Regions from separate parts of the Homo sapiens genome. Here all the other regions are linked to region 1. Evidence: promoter capture Hi-C in 16 types of primary human blood cells and fetal thymus (Javierre and others, 2016). All regions are on one chromosome and are shown on one strand. Each heading gives the region's core, a stretch centred on a gene start or on the middle of the fragment in contact. The rest is flanking DNA. Distances are from core to core; before and after follow the strand shown. Region 1 holds the start of CPLANE2 (ciliogenesis and planar polarity effector complex subunit 2). Region 2 has its middle 6.2 kb from the start of DDI2. Region 3 overlaps PLEKHM2 (pleckstrin homology and RUN domain containing M2).

Evidence for each region. Contacts are between HindIII fragments. The CHiCAGO score rates a contact against its expected background, and 5 or more counts as called.
Region 2: a fragment that was not itself captured here is called in contact with the fragment with the promoter of CPLANE2 in region 1 in 1 of 17 cell types (activated CD4 T cells); the score reaches 5.1 in activated CD4 T cells.
Region 3: a fragment that was not itself captured here is called in contact with the fragment with the promoter of CPLANE2 in region 1 in 1 of 17 cell types (total B cells); the score reaches 5.7 in total B cells.

The regions. Positions count from the first base shown.
Region 1 is chr1:16,235,747-16,238,507 of GRCh38, reverse strand. CPLANE2 (ciliogenesis and planar polarity effector complex subunit 2) reads left to right here and starts at 1,325. Exons shown (of 5, transcript NM_030907.4): 1 at 1,325-1,877. The coding sequence starts at 1,766. RefSeq lists a silencer at 1,268-1,447 and an enhancer at 1,288-1,832. The HindIII fragment of the contact is 3,895 bases long and covers 527-2,761 here.
Region 2 is chr1:15,609,829-15,612,589 of GRCh38, reverse strand. It overlaps the pseudogene CD24P1. Among named protein-coding and RNA genes, the nearest start is that of DDI2, 6.2 kb to the left of the region's middle. The HindIII fragment of the contact is 1,771 bases long and covers 472-2,242 here.
Region 3 is chr1:15,697,904-15,700,664 of GRCh38, reverse strand. All of the region lies in intron 1 of PLEKHM2 (pleckstrin homology and RUN domain containing M2), which reads right to left. Among named protein-coding and RNA genes, the nearest start is that of PLEKHM2, 15 kb to the right of the region's middle. The HindIII fragment of the contact is 4,369 bases long and covers 1-2,761 here.

The sequences.
Region 1 (2,761 bases), core at 76-2,575:
TTAGAGTCAGGTAAGTGTGGGTTCTTTTTTTTTTTTTTTTTTTTTTTTTGACAGGGCCTAGCTCTGTCACTCAGGCTGAAGTGCAGTGGCATGATCTCGGCTCACTGCAACCTCCATTTCCCGGGCTCAAGCAATCCTCTCATCTCAGCCTCCAAGTAGCTGGGACTACAGGCGTGCACTACTGTGCCCGGCTAATTTTTGTATTTTTTTTTTTGTAGAGGCAGGGTCTTACTATGTTGCCCAGGTTGGTCTCAAACTCCTGAGCTTAAGCAATCTGCCCGCCTCAGCTTCCCAAAGTGCTGGGATTACAGGCGTGAGCCACCACACCCAGCCAGCTGTGGGTTCTGAGTCGGTTTCACACTGACTAGCTGTGCGGTGTGACCTCAGACAAGTCACGTTATGTTTCTGAGAGTCTTCGTCAGTACAAGAGGGTAATACTATTTACACAGGTTTGTTTATAGAATTAAATCAGGTGACCCCTGTAAAGTCCCCACTGTCTGGCACTTGGGTGGCCTTAGGTAAAGCTTAACTCCTAAATTATTCCTTTCAAAACAGTGATTTGCCCTACTTGAAGGCATTGCGGAAAGATAATGGTAAAAATTAAATGTAATAGACAAACTCTCAGTAATGACCCACCTGCACTCTTTCCAACCAGTGGGCATTTACTGAGCACCCACCTTCTGGGTAACAGGCCTGGTGTCCAGTGCTGGAACGGTGGAGAGGAGCTCAGAGTTTCAGAGCTGAAAAGTCAGCTCCAGGAGAGCAGGGACTTCTTGTTGGCCACTGTATTCCCAGCTAGGTGCTCAGTATTTGTTGAATGAATGAATGAATGAAAAATACAATCCAGCGGGCCTCTGACTCATTTTTTAAAACTTGAGCCAAGTCCCTTGACCTCTCTGAGCTGGTGTGTGTCCCCATCAGTGAAGCCAGAGATGTTTAAGTCATCTAGAGGTCCTGCCAAGCAGGATTAATAGAGCAATAATATTAATAATAGCAACAATCATAACTAAACATATGGAGCACTGCTATGGAGGGAATAACATGTTACGTCCACGTTATAGAAGAGGAAACTGAGACACAGAGAAGCATGAAAGGCTCCTGGAGGGGGGGTTTCATGATGTTTTGGAAGAAAGACTAGGGATCGGACGGAGTCATAGAGAAGAGGATCCACAACCCAGAGGAAAAGGCCTAGTCCAGAGCCACCGCGCGGCGCAGGCTGCGGACGTTGTAGGAGGGACGAACGCCTCCCGGAACCCGCCCAACCCAACCTCCGGCGTCTCCATGGCAACAACCTCCGCACATGCGCCGCGCGCACCTGCGCCGGAGCTGCCAGCACGCGCAGAAGGCGGACGCAGGCGGGGCGGAAGTGGGCCCGGCGGGCTGGGGCGGCGGGAGTGCGGGTGGGCGTTTAAAGGGGCCTTCGGCACCCAGGTCGGTTCGCCGCCGGGACTGCTGACGGGGAGGGCTAGGTAGCCCTGGGAGTCGGGATCTAGAAGGTAGAGGAGAAGCGGGGCTGTCTGACCCCCGGAGGTGACAAGGGGAGAGGGGCTGTGTGAATACCCTCCATGGGCAGTAATGGGATGACTATCCCCAGGGAGCATTGCGAAGGAGAGAGGCGGCTGAGGGACTGCACTTTCTGGGGCCCCCCGGGAGAGTCAGAGGGCAGTTAAGAGGGATCACAGGCCCGGCTTGGTACTGTCACTCCCCTTCCCACTCCCTGCTCTCAGCATTCTGTCACCTCCCTACCCCGTCGCGGTGCCCAGCCATGGCCAGACCTCCCGTGCCCGGTTCGGTGGTTGTCCCAAACTGGCACGAGAGTGCCGAGGGCAAGGAGTACCTGGCTTGCATTCTGCGCAAGAACCGCCGGCGGGTGTTTGGTAAGTGCCTCCCCCTTTCCTCTAGCCCGCCACTTGTCTTTCCCTGGGGAGAAGAGTGTCACCTGTTGCTCCCTGAGGAGAGCAGAGAGGCAGGGCAGTGAGGGCCTGCTCCACTGCAGTCTTCAGCAGTCTTCAGCCTGGGGGACTGAAAGCCCTAGCTCTGGGACCCCCACACCTAAATCTCCTTAGAGCTAATTCCATCGTCAGAGCCAGGAACATGGAAACAGCAGAAACCTTGCCAGCAACCACTGTCACCAGAGATGCAGTTGATTGAGCACTCCCCTGGTGCCAGGCCCTCTGTTGGGCACGTTACACAGTGCACGCCCATTTAACCTCTCAACAGCACATGGTACAGACTTGGCTAAGATCACACCCCAATAAATAGAGGTGAGCCTCTTCCATGTCCTGCTGTCTCTGGGATGAGACGCTGGTGTTCCCCATGGTGAAACTGACTCACCCAGGCAGGGCCCAGCTGTCAGGCCGGCAGAGGTGCCTGGAATCAGCTGTGGAGCCCAGCTCTGGCCAGGAGAAGCAAGGTGCCAGAAGACTTAAGACCAGAGAGTGAGATAGCTAGAACCAAAATTTGTGAATAAGTCAACTGTTTGTTTGTTTTTTTAAAAGAAATTATATTAAATTCAAAAAATGACCCTCTAGAAGGCTGGGCGCAGTGGCCTGTAATCCCAGCACTTTGGGAGGCCGAGGTGGGCAAATCACCTGAGGTCAGGAGTTCAAGACCAGCCTGGCCAACATGGCGAAACCCCATCTTTACTAAAAATACAAAAATTAGCCGGACGTGGTGGCGGGCACCTGTAATCCCAGCTACTTGGGAGGCTGAGGCAGGAGAATCGCTTGAACACAGAAGGCAGAGGTTGCAGCAACCCTAG
Region 2 (2,761 bases), core at 108-2,607, 630 kb after region 1:
AAAAAAGAGGTGGGCATGGTGTCACACACTTGTGGTCACAGCTACCCAAGAGACTGAGGTAGGATGATCACTTCAGCCCTGGAGGTCAAGGCTGCAGTAAGCCATTATCATGGCACTCCAGCCTGGGTGACAGAGCAAGATCCTGTCTTAAAGTTTAAAAAAGCTTCCATCGGCTGGGTGCAGTGGCTCACACCTGTAATCCCAGCACTTTGGGAGACCAAGGCGGGTGGATCACAAGGTCAGGAGTTCAAGACCAGCCTGGCCAAGATGGTGAAACCCCATCTCTACTAAAAATACAAAAAATTAGCTGGGCACGGTGGCAAGTGTCTGTAATTACAGCTACTCGGGAGGCTGAGGCAGGAGAATCGTGTGAACTCGGAGGGTGGAGGCTGCAGTGAGCTGAGACCGCACCACTGCACTCCAGCCTGGAAGACAGAGTGAGACTCCGTCTCAAAAAAAAAAAAAAAAGCTTCCATCATTCTATAAATCCTCAATGTATTATTTCAGCAGTACTAATTTAATGCCAATATATTAAGTTTTACATTGTTAGGCTATCACTGTTCTTTTGGTAACTGAATTCTTTTTCCTCTGAGGATTTGGATTTGACATTGCATTTGACCTTTTATTTAGTAATTGACATGTGCCAGGGCAATGATAGACTGCAATCTACCCCCAAGTCCAAGCATCATCAATAACTCTTGTTTATCCTTAGAGAGTCAAATGGTAGGCATTTCATTTCACCTATTTTCGTTCAACAAGGACACCAGATTCATTAAGGGGCTGGGTGCGGTGGCTCACCCCTGTAATCCCAGCACTTTGGGAGGCTGAGGCAGGTGGATCACTTGAGGTCAGGAGTTCGAGACCAGCCTGACCAACAAGATTAAACCCTGTCTCTACTAAAAATACAAAAATTAGCTGGGCATGGTGGTGTGCCTGTAATCCCAGCTACTCAGAGGCTGAGATAGGAGAATTGCTTGAACCTTAGAGCCAGAGGTTGCAGTGAGCCAAGATCATGCTACTGCTGTCCAGCCTGGGAGACACAGTGAGACTCCATCTCAAAAAACAAAAAAAGATCTGTTTTGAAGGTAAAATTATAAACCTTGAAATTAAAAGGGCAAAAATGTAAAGGAGCCAAAAACTGTATATCAAGTATTTGGAAAGTAAAGACTGAAAGTTAACTTGCATTAAAGTCACAAAAACTTTTATACTCTTTTCTTTTTCTTTCTTTCTTTTTTTTTTTTTTGAGATGGAGTTTCACTCTTGTTGCCCAGGCTGGAGTGCAATGGCATGATCTTGGCTCACCGCAACCTCCGCCTCCCAGGTTCAAGCGATTCTCCTGCCTCAGCCTCCTGAGTAGCTGGGATTACAGGCACGCACCACCACGCTCGGCTAATTTTGTATTTTTAGTAGAGATGGAGTTTCTCCATGTTGGTCAGGCTGGTCTTAAACTCCTGACCTCAGGTGATCTGCCCGCCTCAGCCTCCCAAAGTGCTGGGATTACAGGCCTGAGCCACCGTGCCCAGGCTATACTCTTTTTCTGTAAATGCTTTTTGCAAACAACAACTATGGATCAGAATAGCTGCATTTAAAACACATTTTGGGGCTTTTTTTTTTTTGAGACAGAGTCTTACTCTGTCGCCCAGGCTGGAGTGCAATGGAGCGATCTTGGCTCACTGCAACCTCCGCCTCCCAGGTTCAAGTGATTCTCCTGCCTCAGCCTCCCGAGTAGCTAGGATTACAGGTGCACAACACCACACCTCGCTAATTTTTGTATTTTTTGTAGAGACGGCATTTCACCATGTTGGCCAGGATGGTCTTGAACTCCTGACCTCGTGATCTGCCCACCTCAGCCTCCCAAAGTGCTGGGATTACAGGCGTGAGCCACCGCACCCAGCTGGGGCCTTTTTTTTTAAGAGACATGGTCTCACCCTGTTACCCAGGCTAGAGTTCACTGCGGCCTCAACCTCGTGGACTAAAGCAATCCTCCTGCCTCAGCCTCCCAAGTAGCTAGCACTACATGCGTGTGCCACCATTCCCAGCGAATTTTTATCTTTTTGTAGAAATAGGAGTCTTTCTATGTTCCCAAGCTGTTCTTGAACTCCTAGGCTCAAGCAATCCTCTTACCTCATCTCCTAACGTGCTGGGATTACAGACATGAGCCATCATGCCCTGTTTGAAACACATTTTGTTATGTCAATATTTTTAGATAGTTAGAACCTGGTCCTAAACCGCAAAGTAAGCTTGATTCTGTAATAAAAATGTTTACAACTGTCTTGACACACAGAAACCTTTTTAAAAATAGACACTCCCTGAAGTCCTTTGTTCACAAGGTCACACACTGATGCTTATGTGTTCCAGCATCTAATATGGCCACAGTAGTCTTTTTTTTTCCATCTTTAGAAACCTACACGGGAACAGCAGATGGAACAGATCTGAACCCACTCCACTGTGTGTGTGAATGAACACTCCCTTTTGCTCCATGCCGAAATGCTGTACATCTATTTTGGATTGTATATTTGTGTGTGTATGCTTTGATTCATAGTAACTTGTTATGAAATTGATTTGTATTGAATACAAACTGCAAATAAAAATAAATCAATGGCTGAAAAAAAGTCAGTACAGCTTCTCCGTGATTCTCTTGGAACGCTTGCTCTTGGAACCCAGCAGCCATGCTGTGAGGAAGCCCAAACTACACCACACGGTGAGACCGCATGGAGAAAATACGTGTGGTTGTTCCAGAAAGCTGCTCAGCTGAGGGGAA
Region 3 (2,761 bases), core at 123-2,622, 540 kb after region 1:
AGAGTTTCCTGGGGCCTCCCATTCAGTAAGAATGTCCTGCCCTGTGCAGAAGGGTGTGTGAAGGGAGTTGGAGTTAAGGAGAGGGAGAGGGAGAAGTTATCAGTGAATGAAACTGACTACTGAATGTAATGAAAATCAGAAAAATAATCACTTAGCCACAACCCTCATTTTATAGGCAGGGAGACCGGAGCCCAGGGAGACAGGGGCACTTCCTGCACACCCTAGCTCTGGCCAGCGTCCTACTACTGTACTGCAGAGTCTTGGCCAGGTGTGCTCACACACAGGGGTAGCTACTTCTGGAGCTCCTTCTGCTTCATCCCACCTGGAGATAAAGCAGTCAGGACATCAGCTGCCACCACCCCAGAAGTGCTCATCCGAGCCTGGGTGACAGAGCGAGACCCTGTCTCTAAAAATAAAATTAAAAAAACAAAACAAAACAAAAAACTGAGCAGGGCAGAGCAGCAGGGGCCATGGGCTATCCCCAGGGCTTCAGCGATGGGGCTCTGCAGGATTTAGGGGACCACATCAGGAATGTCCCAGTTGCTTCCCTCCTAGACAACATGAGATGTCAACAGAGGCTTCAGCTGCTGGGTGCCTGCCGCTTCACCAGCCCCAGGGAACTGCAATGCTTCCGATGTACACTGCTAATTTTATTTTTGTTGTTTTTTTTTTTTGAGATGGGGGCTCACTATGTTGCCCAAGCTGGAGTGCAGTGGCTCATCACAGGCACAATCATAGTGCACTACAGTCTCGAACTCCTGGGCTCAAGCAATCCTTCCACCTCAGCCTTCCATGTAGCTGGGACTATAGGCGCACACCACCATGCCCAGCCTACTCTCCTAGATTAATATATTTATGTAATATAATAATAGAGATGGAGTCTCACTATATTGCCCAGGCCAGTCTTGAACTCCTGGGCTCAAGCGATCCTCCCACCTTATCATCATACCCGGCCCACTCTCCTATTTATTTATTTTAATAATAGAGATGTGGTAAAGACACATGCACACATATGTTTATTGTGGCACTATTCACAATAGCAAATACTTGGAACCAACCCAAATGTCCATCAATGATAGACTGGATTAAGAAAATGTGGCACATATACACCATGGAATACTATGCAGCCATCAAAAAGGATGAGTTCATGTCCTTTGCAGGGATATGGATGCAGCTGGAAACCATCATTCTGAGCAAACTATCACAAGGACAGAAAACCAAACACTGCATGTTCTCCTTCATAGGTGGGAACTGAACAATGAGAACACTTGGACACGGGGCGGGGAACATCACACACTGGGGCCCATCGTGAGGTGGGGGGCAGGGGGAGGCATAGCATTAGGAGAAATACCTAATGTAAATGACGAGTTAATGGGTGCAGCAAACCAACATGGCACATGTACACCTATGTAACAAACCTGCACACCTATGTAACAAACCTGCACATTGTGCACATGTACCCTAGAAATTAAAGTATAAAATAATAATAACAATAATAAAATAATAGAGATGGGGTCTCACTATATTGCCCAGGCTGGTCTCAAACTCCTGGGCTCAAGTGATCCTCCTGCCTTGGCCTCCTAAAATCCTGGGATTACAGGCATGAGCCACTGCGTCAAGCCTACTCCCCTAATTTTAAAATCCTTCACCTGAGGTTCCACTGCACCATAGCCTAGAAAATATTTCATTCTCAATGGCAATCAAATTATAGTGAATTATAGAGCAAGAAAGCCCAGAAATCACCCCCGCATAAGAACCAATCAGAGATCTTGCAATTCAAAAACAATGAGGCTAGTTGCTCTATATGAAAAATGTTGGCCAGGCACAGCGGCTCACACCTATAATCCCAGCACTCTGAGAGGCTGAGGTGGGTGGATCACCTGAGGTCAGGAGTTCAAGACCAGCCTGGCCAACATGGTGAAACCCTGTCTCTGCTAAATATACAAAAAATTAGCCAGGTGTGGTGGTGCGCACCTGTAATCCCAGCTACTTGGGAGGCTGAGACAGGAGAATCACTTGAACCCAGGAGGCAGAGGTTACAGTGAGCCAAGATTGCACTATTGCACTCCAGCCTGGGCATCAGAGCAAGACTATGTCAAAAAAAAAAAAAAAAAAGAAAGAAAGAAAGAAAGAAAAAGAAAGAAAAACAAAAATGCTGTTGGCTGGGAGTGGTGGCTCACACCTATAATCCCAGCATTTTGGGAGCCCAAGGCAGGAAGTTCGCTTGAGCCCAGGAGTTCAAGACCAGCCAGGGCAACATAGCAAGACCCCTGTCCCTACAAAATACTAAAAAATTAGCCAGGCCTGGTGGCACACACCTATAGTCCCAACTACTTGGGATGATGAGGCGGGAGGATTGCTTTAGCCCAGGAGCTTGAGGTTGCAGGGAGTTATGGTTGTGTACTGCAGCCTGGGTGACAGAGCAAGACCCTGTCTCTAAAAATAAAAAATAAAAAATAAAAATAATATTAAAAAGAAAAATGCTGTCCTTCAGCGATGTCTTAGAAGGGCAGTCAATGCCCCTAGCCAGGAAGGGCGTGTGCCCAGACTGGGTGGCAACCTGGGTCTGGTAAAGTCCCCCAACGTGTAGAGCTGTCATAAAGGGTTTATCCACCATGGGACTGCATCGATCTTTAAGCAAGTTTGGTGAAATCAATGCTTCTTAACCATTCATTTGCCACTAAATACAGCAGCTAATTGCACAGGTTTCTTTGCCCACCTCCGAAATTACTGCTCATTAGTCCTTCTGCTGGAGAGTTGG